Regions from separate parts of the Homo sapiens genome. Here region 2 is linked to region 1. Evidence: promoter capture Hi-C in human tissues and cell types (Jung and others, 2019). All regions are on one chromosome and are shown on one strand. The core of a region is centred on a gene start or on the middle of the fragment in contact, and the rest is flanking DNA. Distances in the headings are between cores, read along the strand shown.

Region 1 (7,224 bases), core at 3,470-5,969:
CTACCCCAGCATGGTTCAAGGGTCAGCTGTCGTCTGTTTATTCAAAGCAGGTTTGTTGAGACAAATAATTTTGAAAAGCATCTAGAAAAGTGCTTGGCACATCACATGTTCTCAAATAGCCTACAGATAAGCTTTAACTTTGTAGCTTGGCTCTGAAGGCTAGTCTTAATGGCAGGTAAATAACATGAATATTACCACACACCATGACAGTTCCGTGTGTATTTTGAGTAAATACTCAGATACACATGTGCAGTGCCAGAGGCTAAAACAGGATTGTTGTGGGCATTAAATTACTTGACATATGTAAAGGCCCAGCATACAGTCCAGCATATTATAGGAGCAGAGTCATGTTATATATTTACTTGTCTATAAGTTATTGTTAGGAAATGCATACATGAGTATAATTGGATGTTAATCATGGCTTGATTTTACTTGCCACTCCTGGTTGGAAAGCAGTATCTTGAAACTAAGCAACAGATGATGCCTAGAATATTGGGAGCATGCCCATAATAAGCCAGCAGGCCTACTTACCTGTGTCTCTTTGGCTGATTAGCTCATTGCCTGATAAAGTCCAGATATAGCAGGGATAATCTCCATCCAGACAAGTTAGTTCTAGGGCCTTGAACTAGAGTCCTAGTTTTCAACATATCATTTTGAAAACAATTAATGAAAAGGAAGATCAAGTAGAACCCTTTACTGAGCTCACCACCACTGATCAACACCATGATATAAACAATCCATAACTCATAGCATGTTAATCACAGTTCTGTATTGCCCTGTAACAGCAGAGGCTCCTCTCCCTATTTCTATTAGATGAATAAGCAAACTGACAGACATTTTGGCAGCCAGAAGACTTCAATATACAATTAATTCACACCTTGCCTAGTGACACCACTGGACATGGTGCCAAGTAAATTTGGCATTGCTGTAGAGTATGATGACATGTTTCCTCAGGTCTTAGTCAGATTGACTCAGATAGTTGTCTTGAGCTGGTCCTGAGCTAGCTCACTTCAAGGTGCTAGGATTGGGGGTTGGGTGGGTGAACAGAAAACTCTGGTGAAGGCTTTGGATTCAGTTTTATGCATTTTATATTATTCAAGTGAACAATTAACTATATAACATACCTTAGAGGCATATGCTTCATATAGCTGTTGTAATGTCCTTCCCAAAACACTCTTGGTGTCATTCATTAGTTGCTCACTCTTCCTCCAGCTTCTAGTTGTAGAGTCTAGGTACAGGTACTCTAACCCAGTCTCTCCACTTTCCTTGTTTTGTCTTTTAGGTAACTTATAAAAAGTAAACCTAACAGACAAAATGATTATGAATTACTAACATTTATTGACTGTTTTCCTGTGGCAGTAACTGTATTACACACTTTAATATATCTCTCATTTCTGTTTCATGGAAGGCCTCTAAGGAAAGGGATTTGCTCAAGCTCTTTGCCTCTTTCTTCACTCTTATCTTTGCTCCTCCCCAGAGAAGAAAATAAAAATCTGATTGGATATGTTCTAAGACCTTGGTTATACTGGTGGGTGGAGTCCCTGAAGTGGAAGTCCATATACATTGAGAGTGGCTCTTTCTGTTGCTTCCATGATCCATGTGGCTACAGTGGAGAGAAGGCCAAGGCCCAGACCATGCAGTTGGCTGACTGGATATGAGATTTGGGTTTGGGCTTCAGGAGAGGTGGAAGGTACTTTGAGCCCCTGTCATAAGCTGCATTCCTCAGCTCAGTTTATCCGAATACTCTGCCTTGAAGATTCAGGGCTAAAACCAAGTAATTAAGTAGGCCCTTTCCTTCCTTTACTGTTGTTTTCCATTTGTATATCTCCCTTGGATATCTCACAGGGAGGAGAGGTAGCTCAGCCAAGACAGCATTAAGGCATTATTGGATTACCTAGCTCAGCGTTTCTCAGTGTGCTCTATTCACATTTTCAGCCGATCATTCTTTGTTGTGGGAGCTGTCCTGTGCATTGTAAGATCCCTGCCCTCTACCTATTAGATGCCAGTAGCACTGCCAAGTTGTGACAATCAAAATTATCTCCAGACATTATCAAAAATCCTCTGAGGGCAAAATTACCCTCGGTTGAGAACCACTGATCTAGCCAAATACTTTCTAATAGCATGAACCCCACCATTAACCCCTAAACACTCACAGTGCACCAAACATTATAATATATACACTATTACCATACAACAGTGTCACAAACCCGTAAAAGCTGCACACTCTTCACTTGGTCCCCTTCGGTCTTATACTTAATTTAAGTGAACTCTTTCCTGCCCTGCTTATGCTTTCTTACAGGGTCAGGTCCTCACATGTGGCAGGAAACATGAAATTATTCTTTGGTGCTGACTTGATGGTCTCTTTCCTTACCTTTCTCAATAAATGTTAGCAGCTTGGCAACAAGTTGCTTATATTCTCTCTAACAGACATTGCTAAGTAATATGTCCATTCACTTGTGGCAAAAATGATTTTCCATATCAATCACAATTTGGTGGCCCACCAGTGAAGGGTTTGTGAACTATCAGTGTGCCGTGGCACACCAGTTGAGAGCTAGTACTTTTAAACATTTTTCCTGGGTGACTGTCTCTAATTATGTACTCAAGAGTCCTCAGTCTGTTTCTAGCCCAGACCTTTCTGCTGAGGTCCAGAGAAACCTAAACTCAAAGATGTCCCATTAACCCCCAACTCCGTATTTTTGAAACCAAATTTATAATATTTTGCTCCAAATCTGCTCATCCCACACTATTAGGGAACATATTCATGCAGTCTCAGAAGCAGAAGCCTAAAATTATTTCTTTCTTTTTCTTTCTTGTTTTGTTTTTTGTTTTTTTTTGAGACGGAGTCTCATTCTTGTTATTCAGGCTGGAGTGCAATGGCACGATCTTGGTTCACCACAACCTCCGCCTCCTGGGTTCAAGCAATTCTCCTGCCTCAGCCTCCCATGTAGCTGGGATTACAGGCATGCGTCACCATGCCTGGCTAATTTTGTATTTTTAGTAAAGATGGGGTTTCTCCATGTTGGTCAGGCTGGTCTTGAACTCCTGACCTCAGGTGATCTGTCTGCCTAGGCCTCCTAAAGTGCTGGGCTTACAGGCGTGAGCCACCACGCCTGGCCAACCTAAAATTATTTCTTAACATCTCCCTTTCTCCTACTGGCTGCAGCCCATCCATCACCAAGTCTTCTCAGCATGTCCTTCTTTCTATTTCCATGACCGCTTCTTTAACTCAGGTCTACACCTCTTCTCACCTGTAATGCTGCAAAAGTGCTCCTGGTCTCAGTGATTCTAGGCTGCTCCCCATCCATCCAGCCCTCATAGTACTGCCAATGGGTTTCCTAAAGTGCAAATCTGACCATTCACACCCCTGCGTGAAGTCCTCCAATAGCTCCCTTTCAATGTCAAGTTCAAACCTTGTAGCTCAGCACACAGACCCCTTGGCTGTCCCCACCTCTCTAACCTCACCTCCGGTCATCTTCCTGTATTCTCCTGAAGTTCCAGCAATACCAAACTACTTTGCAACTCCCAAATTTCCATGTTGCTTCTTGCCTCTCTACCTCCTCATTGCTCCTTCATTGGCCTGAGATGCTCTTGCACATCCCTTCTTTTTCCAGCTACTTCTTAATTGTTCTTAAAACTTAGCTCAAAAATTACATCCTTAGAGAAGTTTTCTGGGCTCTCTGTTCCCCAGTGTTCCACCTATGCCCTTACCACATAACTGTGAGGTCCTTGAGGGTAGGAACCATGTTTCGTTCATATTTATATTTTCAAAACTCCACACAGACCTCTGTTGAGCTCAGTAACTGAGGAAAGACTGACTACTGCCTTGAGTATATCTGTGTTCTGTAGCCTGAAGTTTACACAAAAAGCTTGACACCAACCATTATGGCAAACCTAAATATCCCAATTAAAGGGTGAAAAAGTAGTTAAAGCTTTAGGAGAACCCATGACTATAATGCAACACAGCATTTAATGTCTTTGACACTGTACAACAGGCCAGTGGCCTACGTACCAATCATGGCAACAGCTGCCTCTGCTTCCAAACAAACCGATGTTAGGCAAACAGTGCTGTGTGTGACCAGGTCCCCCTTCTCTTTCTCATAAGGAGCAGCACATGCTCCATTTTCAGAAAAAAATAATCTGCCTTCTTTACTCTGTCAGTCTTTCAAAGGATGTTGGAAGTGTTCTGTTAGGAAAAGCCATGATGTAATTAAAAGAAATTGCCAGCTCACAGAAGCTGTCAGCTCAATCCCACTTCTGTGGCTACCAGCCTTGCCCCGCTGAGAACAGTGAATCAGGCCCAAGAGGGGCTGCTCAGCTCTTTTTCAGGGGGAAACTCCGTCACTCAGAAGCCTACCCCTGCCTGGGAGTTTGGCCGATTTGCACACTTTAACTTCCTTTATTTGTAAAGGGAGGAAAGAGAATGGACATTCCCCTTAGGAACTTCGCAGTGAGCCAGGCCAACTCTGTACCGAGGCTGTTTGCATGCAGCAGTCCTTCCATTTCATTTACCTACCAGTCCACAGCTTTCCCTTCTTCATTTCTGCATGAAATTGTTGCTGCCCCCAGCACCCCAAAGAGGCCAAGGAAGAGCAAAGCAAAGGATGTTCTTAGCAGTCTTGCCATCATTTTCTGTTTCATTTATTTCATGCCACAGCAGGACACTTTCCCCATAGATTGTGGAGTCTGAGTTTCAAGGCGCTCTCAGGCTGTGCTGGCTCTGACGTTTGATTTGATTTACCTGTGCTGTTCGCTGTTCGGGGCATTTTCAGAGTGGGATGGATCCCATGTAATTGTGCGATTCTGTCACAACATGCCAGCGTGACTCTGGATGCCTTTGTGCTGAATTGTTGACTGGTTTGCAAAGTCATCAAAAAGTTCTGCAGAAAAATAGGGAAAGATAGTTCACTCTTTGGAGTGAACATTGTTGTATGAAATTCATTGGGCAGGGGGACTTCATTTTAATAAGTAGATGTTAAATATATTTCATGTCTTCTCCTGTTTGACTCAATGAATGAGAGCAAATGCAGGTGGTTCGTACATTAAACAGAAATGATAAAACCTTATGTCTTAGTAATAATTAGGATCTGTCACTTAATAATCTCTGTCTTAAGGAACCAGTTGCTAAGGGATACTTCAAAGGGTTGCTTCAAAGTAACAGTAAATTTAACTGTATTTTACCAAAGATGTTTACATATTCTCTCCATCTTCCTGGTTTTAGCCACTCAATGTGGTGCTTCAGGCTGCTATGCAATAGGTAAACATATTGATCACCCACTCTTCAGGTTAATAAAAAATGTTACAAACATCTATTTTGCCCAAACTATGCTTTCTCATTCTCGAAGCTGAATCTGAAGTAGAAAACCAAAATAAAATGGCCCACTACCATAACAACTATAAAAAGGTGAGACCAATTTCTTTGTGAATCAGGGAAGGAGTAGATAGACATATGAAAATAATTTCTTTAATGCATACTTTTGCATCAATTATTAAAGCTGCCATCATAATAAATAGCAGTTTACATCATGCCTGGAAATAATGCTGCCCCTAATCTGTCTCTCTGATAATCACAATGATAACTATAATAGTTCCAGATCAGAGGATCCAGACCAAACTGAACCCTTGTAAATCAGATTACCTCTGTGGTTGCACTAGAACTGTTCACAATTCTCAGGATTCATAGAAAAGGGGAAGGCTTGTGTCTCTATCCTAAGACAGAGTTTTGGGAGGAGGACTCTGTACCACCTGCCCAATTACCTGTGGTGCCTGCAAAAAAGGCAGAATTCTAGGACTTATTCCAAACCTGCTACATCAGAATTCTTCCAGTTGGGCTCAAGAATCTATATTTTTAATAAGCTTATTGGTGATGCTGGTGTACCCTAAAGTTTGAAACTCACTGCCCTGAGGCCAAGACTATGCTGTATTTGGTAGATTCACAGCTTTCTGCAGGTTAAATGAAGAAATATTTTTCTTACCCATTCCTCCATTGGTATTATTATTATTATTATTTTGAGATGAAGTTTTGCTCTTGTTGCCCAGGCTGGAGTGTACCCACCTCGGCCTGGGAATCCATCCACCTCGGCCTCCCAAAGTGCTGGGATTACAGGCATGAACCACTGTGCCTGTTCTCATTTTGTTTTATATATTTTCTTCCTGTGTTCAGAAAAAAGGATTTCAACAACCCCAACCTTTTTGTCAATTTTTAAAAGTTTTTTTAAAAATTATCAGCTGGACGCAGTGGCTTATGCCTGTAATCCCAAAACTTTGGGAGGCTAAGGCAGGAGGATTGCTTGAGCCTGGGAGTTCAAGACCAGCCGGGGCAACATAGCAAGAATGTATCTCTACAAACAATAAAAAAAAAATTAGTCGGGCATAGTGGCACATGCCTGTAGTCCCAGCTGTTCAGGAGGCTGAGGTGGGAGGATTGCTTGAGCCCAGGAAGTGGAGGCTGCAGTGAGCCATGATGGTACCACTGCACTTTTGCCTGGGTGACAGAGTGAGATTGTCTCAAATATATATATATATGTATGTATGTATGTATGTATGTATACTGAGAGAGAGAGAGAGAGAGAGAGAGAGAGAGAGAGAGAGAGAGAGAGAGATTACTCTTCTCTGTTAAAGTAAACACAGAGTCTTGCTGTGTCGCCCAGGCTGGAGTGCGGTGGTGCAATCTCAGCTCACTGCAACCTCCACCTCCCACGTTCAAGTGGTTCTCCCACCTCAGCCTCCTGGGTAGCTGGGATTACAGGTGCCCACCACCAGGCCCGGCTAATTTTTGTATTTTTAGTAGAGATGGGGTTTCACCTTTGGCCAGGCTGGTCTCAAATTCCTGACCTCAGATGATCTACCCGCCTCAGCTTCCCAAAGTGCTGGGATTACTGGTGTGAGCCACTGCACCAGGCCAAAATAATTTTATTTATTTACTTATTTATTTACCTGTGAGACTTTTTGGTATTACAACTAATAATAGAAACATACCAGTAGGATTCACTGATGCATTTAGAGAATGTAAGCAAATTGTTTTCAGTTATGTAGGGCTAAAGACAGTTTGTTGAGTAGGATTTAAAATCATTCCTTTTTTCTTCTCCTTATTACACTTAGCACAGTGCCTGGTAATAGTAAGTGATTCATAAATGTTAGCTAAGATTATTCTTACTACAACCTGAGCTTTTCCTGTAAGGTGGTTGGGGGACATCTGTATTAGAATGATATTTGCTAAATCCAATT
Region 2 (7,224 bases), core at 3,321-5,820, 1.1 Mb before region 1:
AAAGAACCTTACGAAGCATATTACCTGATAAACTTGAGTGGGTTTGGGAGGACAAACTAACAGGATTATTGTGTCTCCTAGTTGGTACATGGGAGCAACTGACGTACCCCCTTCAGAACCTTAACTGTTAGTAACAGTGGCAGTGACAACACAAACCAGTGAGCAGAGATACAGCTCTTAGGCCAAGCTGGCCAGACTGTATGGCTGCAGGAAGTGACTGACCAGTGACAGTGCTCAGCCAGACCAAGATGAGGAGAGAAGAGTCAATAAGCTTTCTGGAGGCTAAGGTGTTCCCGTGGTGGGAAACTGTGCCCCCAGCCTTCATGGATGAGTTATAGGTCTTAAAGTTAGTCTCCTCTTGTTGGGATTTCACACTCATTAAATAACCTGATAATAACCTGGTTTTCCATGTAACTGCCTCTAGGAAGAAAAGTACTGTTCATGAAGACATAGGTATTTCAGTCTGCATGGTAAAAGATCTATATCTTACTACAAAATAATAAACTAGCTGGTTTATAATGTGTAAAAAAGATTTTTGAGAAATCATTGGTGGTGGTATAATATTAAGTGATATCATTCACATGGGTAGTTATTCTCATAACATCTTGTATGTAACTATAACACTTATAATGTATTAATAATTTGTTTTCAATCTTTTAATTTGGACTAGACATAACTCTTACAGAGAGAAATTGTCTTTAGGCTGGGTAGGTGACTCACATCTGTAGTCCCAACACTGTGGGAGGCTGAGGCAGGCGGATCACCTGAGGCCAGGAGTTCGAGACCAGCCTGGTCAACATGGTGAAACCCTGTCTGTACTAAAAATACAAAAAGTAGCTGGGTGTGGTGGCACACACCTGTCATCTCAGCTACTTGGGAGGCTGGGGCAGGAGAATCACTTCAACCTGGGAGGCAGAGGCTGCAGTGAGCTGAGATTGCACCACTACACACCAGCTTGGGCGACAAAGCAAGACTCCATCTCAAAAAAAAAAAAAAAAACAAAAAACCCAAAGAAATGATTTTTATTATTTTATGAAGTATATGCTTCTTAAAGAAAAATTGGAAAACACATAAAATTTTAAAGAAAATAAAAATCACCTATAATCCCACTTCTTAAAGATAGCAAAAGTTACTGTTACATTTTATTAAGCATTTTCTCCTATATATGTCATTAAACTGTGATCATACTAAAACATTATTTTCAAAAGCATTATTTTTAATGACTACAGCATATCCCACAGGTATGGATATACCTTGATTTATTTAACTACTCTTTTATTATAGGGCTTTCCAATTGTTTCTGATTTTAAATTTTAATTTAATTATTAATTAATTAATTTATTTATTTATTTTTGAGACAGAGTCTTGCTCTATCGCCCAGGTTGGAGTGCTGTGGCACAGTCTTGGGTCGTTCAACTTCCATCTCCCCAATTCAAGTGATTCTCATCCCTTAGTCCCCTGAGTAGCTGGGATTACAAGTGCCTGCCACCACACCCAGCTACTTTTTGTATTTTTAGTAGAGATGGGGTTTCACCATGTTGGTCAGGCTGATCTCAAACTCCTGTCCTCAGGTGATCCGCCAGCTTCAGCCTCCCAAAGTGCTGGGATTATAGATGTGAGCCACCGCACCTGCCTGTTCCTGATTTTTAAAATGATGAATGGAGAAACCATTTCTTAATCAGATCGTTAGCCACAGTATCTAGCACACTTAGTCACTTAATATAAAAGTATTGAATTGAAAAGTTATTTTCATCTGAGATCCTATCCTGAATAGGTTTATTAGGTTTTATTAGAAGCTTAAGAGGAATCTGACAAAATGAACTCCAGAGCACATATATTTTGGTGTGGAAGGGAGCAGTTTAAGCCTGTGCTCAGAGAGGCAACCCAGGGATGGGGAACTGCTAACAGTGTGTGGGGTGGAGCAGGGGCACATAGAAGAATTTCTAAGGTGAATGTTGACTCTGTCACAGTTTTACCTACTGACAGAAGTGTTGAACCATCCACAGTGGGTTACTTCTCCCACTCTTCTGAAGAAGGAGCTGTTTTGTCACTTGTTCTGTTTCTCTTTTAATTGCTCATAGTTGTTCCTATGAGAGCAGACATGTGCTCTTTGAATTTAATTGAACGTCTGCTTCAGAAAAACGTGACAAGGAAATATTATCTTCTTAGATTTCAGTATGTGTAAGATGGGTATAGTCGTTTACAAAAATTCCCAAATCAGAATTTTGTGACCTCTTCTAGAACATGTGATTAGCCTGGCCCAGCATGACTCTTTCCCAAGCAGGGCCAAACAGATGGAAGCTGGAAGCACCATTTTCACCCTAAAGGGATCAAGACAAGGCCCAGCAAACTGAACTAGCAATATCTAATTGTCTGGTGTTCTGATGATGCTCACATTGACCCCACCTCCAGAGTGCCTGTTACCATAACATCTGGAACTGTTATAACACTGCCTATTTTGATATGTGGCCAAAACCACTCTACTTTCAGATTGTGTGAACACTGTTGTAATACTCAATAAGCAATTAGTGGTGAAAACCCCGATTGTGGTAATATTAGTGCCTGATTTGTTTAATTTAATTAAGCATTTAATTTCCTTCTGGTGTCTTTATAAAAGAAAAACAGGGCCAGGCGCGGTGGCTCACGCCTGTAATCCCAGCACTTTGGGAGGCCGAGGCGGGTGGATCATGAGGTCAGGAGATCGAGACCATCCTGGCTAACACGGTGAAACCCCGTCTCTACTAAAAATACAAAAAATTAGCCGGGCGCGGTGGCGGGCGCCTGTAGTCCCAGCTACTCGGGAGGCTGAGGCAGGAGAATGGCGTGAACCCGGGAAGCGGAGCTTGCAGTGAGCCGAGATCGCGCCACTGCAGTCCGCAGTCCGGCCTGGGCGACAGAGCAAGACTCCGTCTCAAAAAAAAAAAAAAAAAAAAAAAAAGAAAAACAGAAGGGAGGAAAAATAATCTCAGATTATTAACTACTTTAAGCTTTTCACCTACTACCTCTTGGGCTATAGCAAATCAATAATCTTTTAAAAGCAAAACGCAAAATAAAGTAAAATAAAAATTAAATGTAAACTTTCAAAAGGCAATAAAAATATAATTTCTTTTAAAGCATGTATTAGTTTCACCATATTTCTAGAATATTGTAAAGTAATATACAATTATATAGAATACAGCATTATACAGTAATGTAATATGCTTTAGACTATCCCCCATAATATTAACAACCCATTCTTTATCAATTGATATTCATTAGTCTTGTCTGACAATGCCAAACCTATTCCCTGATCTCCAACTTACCCGTCAATGACCACTTCTGATGAGGATCTGAACACTATTGCAATAAGGCAGACAATATTATAAAATTCAAGAAACATTAAGTCACAATAGGAAGGATACAACTGAAAGGATAATGATATGGTTTGGTTGTGTCCCCACCCGAATATCATCTTGAATTTTAGTTCCCATAATCCCCACATGTTGTGAGAAGAACCCAATGGGAAGTTATTGAATCATGGGGGTGGGTTTTCCTATTCTGTTAGTGAATAAGTCTCATGAGATCTGGTGGTTTCATAAATGGGAGTTCCCCTGCACAAGCTCTCTTGCCTGCCATCATGTAAGATATAACTTTGCTCCTCCTTCACCTTCTGCCATGATTGTGAGGCCTCCTCAGCCATGTGGAACTGTGAGTCTATTAAACTTCTTTCCTGTATAAACTACCCTGTCTTAGGTATATCTTCATTAGCAACGTGAGAGCAGACTAATACAGATAATTCCTAAAATTAATTAAGATGTCAGAAAGCATTCTTGGCAAAAAGCAAGTTAGAGTGGAAACTTCTCTTTTCTTTTTAAAGATGTATCCTATGATATGGTCTTTAGTGGAAACCCATGTTTTCTATAAAAATGAAACTGATTTTTCTATATAATATTCTTGCCCATTTCTCTCCAAAATGATTTATCTGTCAGCATTCTCACAGAAGAAAAATTTGCTTTCCAAGGCAATTTCCTTTCCCTTTTTTCCCTATATTTTTGAAAAATACTTTCTTTAAAGGCTTTTCTAATTTTTTTTAGAAGGAAAGTTGGAGAAACTGAGATTAGGAGATTTTGAGTTGGCAGATGGCATAGATCATTAATTTTTTGCAATTATGTTTAATATATTAAAATAACAAAAACTGAATAGAGAATAGAAGCCCATATACTAGGGAATAAAAGCATAAAATTTCCTGTACAATAAATTATAGACAATTTGTACAGCATTTTTTTATTGATGCATATGCTAATTTGATGGTTGAGATGTTTAAATAAATTCCCTGAAAAATTTAGTACGTAGCTACATATGTGACCTGTATGAACACAAATTACCATTTTCTTCTAGCTTTCACATCAAAATTTCACATCATAATATACTATATATATTTCTATATATAGTAGAGATAGTATATGCATATACATATACTATCTCTGCTATATATAGTATAGCAGAGACAGTAGTGTGAGTCATATATCATCTCTAAAGAGCAGGATAATCTTGGTGTGAGTTAATCTTGATTTACATTTTAACTCCACTCTATAATAACCACCAGGATGTGTTATATTTTCGGTAGATAATGTTTTCTTCGGGTGGTTTTCAATGGTGACTTCTCTGAATCTGCATGGTTCTCACGTAAGATGTCATGAGGTTGTAGGGGACACTCTTCTAGTTGTAAAGGCTGTAGAAAAGGCCTGAGGGCGGATGCATATTATTGACAGGCCCCCTGTCATTGGGGAGGCACGTATTTATGGAGCCCTTACCTGTGTCAGGGCTCTCAGCCAGGAGCTGACCCTCAGCTTTAAAACAAGGTTAACAATATCACTGACATTCCAGCTGTAGCACATAGATTTTTCTCTTCCTTCCTCCAACATGCTAAATTCCCTCCCACCTTGTGTCTTTGCTCATATGCTCGGCTCAGTTTGGTAATTTCTCTCCACTCCTGATTAATACCTACTCATCTTTCAATTCTCAGCTCAGAAGTCACCTCTCCAGGGAAGTCTTCCTTTATTCCCCCAGACATATGGGATTTACGTTATTATACATGCTCATGGTACCCAGTCCTTTTCCTTTACAGCACTTAGTTTGTGAGTATTTAGTGATGGTTTGATTCATAGCTGTCTCTCTGCTAGACAGTATTAGCACCTACTACTAGTCAGTGACTAGTGCTAGTTGTGTATTATGGACCCTGTTTTTAATTCAGAAAAAAGTTAGCAAAACTTCAGAAAATGAAAGAAATTTTTCTGAAAATATTATTGAAATACTATCTTGGAAGAATAACAGAACTTGATACTAAGAGTGTGACTGGTTAATGATACACACTGCTTCCATCAAGAGAAAGTGTCTGTTCCCCTCCCTTTGATGGGCAGGCCTGTGACTGCTTTGACCAGTACAGGATAGCAGAAATCATGCCATGCTAGCTATGTGCATAGCCCCTAAAGAGCACGGCAGCTTCCACTTCTCACCTGTAGGAAGCCAACCACCAAGAAATGAGACTATTCTGGGACCACTATTCTGTGAGAATCCTGAGCCACATGAAGAAGCTCTGGAAGAAGGGACCTGTGTGGAGGGGGTGAGCTGGGGGTCAGGCTGAACAACACTGAGGCACTAGAGATGTGCGTGAGAAAGTCAGCTGGAAAGTGGTTCCCAGCTTCAGCTGCCCCAGTGGACTCCATGTGGATCAGAGACACAAGCTTTTCCCCAATTCCTAATCCACAAATCATGGTCCAAACAAAATGACTGTTTTATAAAGCCACTAGGTTTCAGAGTAGTTTTTTGTGCATCAACAATAACTGAAACAAAGAGTAAGAAAAGTAAATGCATGAGAAGAAGGAGCTGAGGAAAGATAATTCAGAGGAGAAAGTAGGTGAAGGGCAAAATAAAGAAGCGTGTAACAACTATCTTGAGGCTGGACATGGTGGCTCACGCCTGTAATCCCAGCACTTTGGGAGGTTGAGGCAGACAGATCACTTGAGTTCACGAGTTTGAGACCAGCCTGGGCAATATGGCGAAACCTGTCTGTATAAAAACACAAAAACAAAACCAAAAATTACCCGGGTGTGGTGGCGTGCACCTCTAGTCCCAGCTACTCAGGAGACTAAGGTGGGAGAATCACTTGAACCTGGGAGGTAGAGGTTGCAGTGAGCCGAGATTGTGCCATTGCACTCCAGCCTGGGTTACAGAGTGAGACCATGTCTCGAAAAAACCAAAACCAAAAACAAACGAACAAACAAACAAAACCCAACCACCTCAGAGGTAAGAGTTCAGGTAATAGGGACAGTGAGGCTTTCTCCATAAAGCCACTAGAAGTTTGGAACCTCTACTCCCACTCCACCCCAACCATTTTTGCATGATGCAGGTCCCGATATATGGAAGCCCTCTATAATTTTATAATGGTGCTGGCAAGAAAAAGAAAGTGTGGGGAAATAATCTGACAGTGTTTACATGATCTATTTTTCTAAGAGTTATGCCTATACATTGTCAAACATATTGAATTAAGTAACCTGAATTATTTAAAATGTAGGTAATTCTTACCAAAATTTAATATAAGAAGGTTCCCATTCAGCAGGGGAAGTTGGGCAATAATTTTATTGTAATGGGGTTTGACCCTAGAATGGGTAAATGAAGCTTTCCCCCAACCAATAATGGAATAGGAAAGAGGAAAGGGAGTAACCTTTGTTGAAAGTCAACTATTGCTATGCTTTGCATATCTTCTTCTTTTTCCCTCCTCCTCCCCCTTCTCCTCCTCCATCATCATGGAAGTGGCTAACGTTTGTTGAGCACTTGCTATATCTACATGCTGCAAAGCTTTACATGGATCATCTCATTAATCTTCATTACGTCATAATATATGTGTAATCTTTGTTTTACAAATGGAAAAATACTGAAGCTCTGTATGTGAAGTTAATTGACCAGGATTGTACAGATAGTAAGTAGTGGAGCCAGCATTTGAGCAAAGGGCTCCTTTGAACAAAGGGCTCCCTCAGCAGAAGGGAGACGAAGAACATATTTCATATGTTGTCTAAGTTAATTTAATTTAGTCCTCATAATAACTATGTAAGATTGATATTACTACCCTCATTTTTCAAATGAGGGTCTTATGCTCAGAAAGGTCAAGCAAGTTGTACAAGATCACACAGCTGTGACAAAGCCAGGGTTCAAACCCTGACCATGAACCCTCCACTCTCCCATAGC

What was found. The method cuts DNA at HindIII sites, captures the fragments that hold promoters and counts their contacts. A contact is called where the count stands out against the background at its distance.
Region 2: a contact is called between a fragment that was not itself captured here and the fragment with the promoter of DNASE2B in region 1, in 1 of the 25 tissues and cell types used here (pancreas).

What each region holds. Positions count from the first base shown.
Region 1 is chr1:84,395,979-84,403,202 of GRCh38, reverse strand. DNASE2B (deoxyribonuclease 2 beta) reads right to left here and starts at 4,719. Exons shown (of 6, transcript NM_021233.3): 1 at 4,514-4,719; 2 at 1,125-1,302. The coding sequence starts at 4,638. The HindIII fragment of the contact is 7,255 bases long and covers 2,000-7,224 here.
Region 2 is chr1:85,474,874-85,482,097 of GRCh38, reverse strand. It overlaps a transcript of DDAH1 not described here. Among named protein-coding and RNA genes, the nearest start is that of DDAH1, 13 kb to the right of the region's middle. The HindIII fragment of the contact is 4,355 bases long and covers 2,393-6,747 here.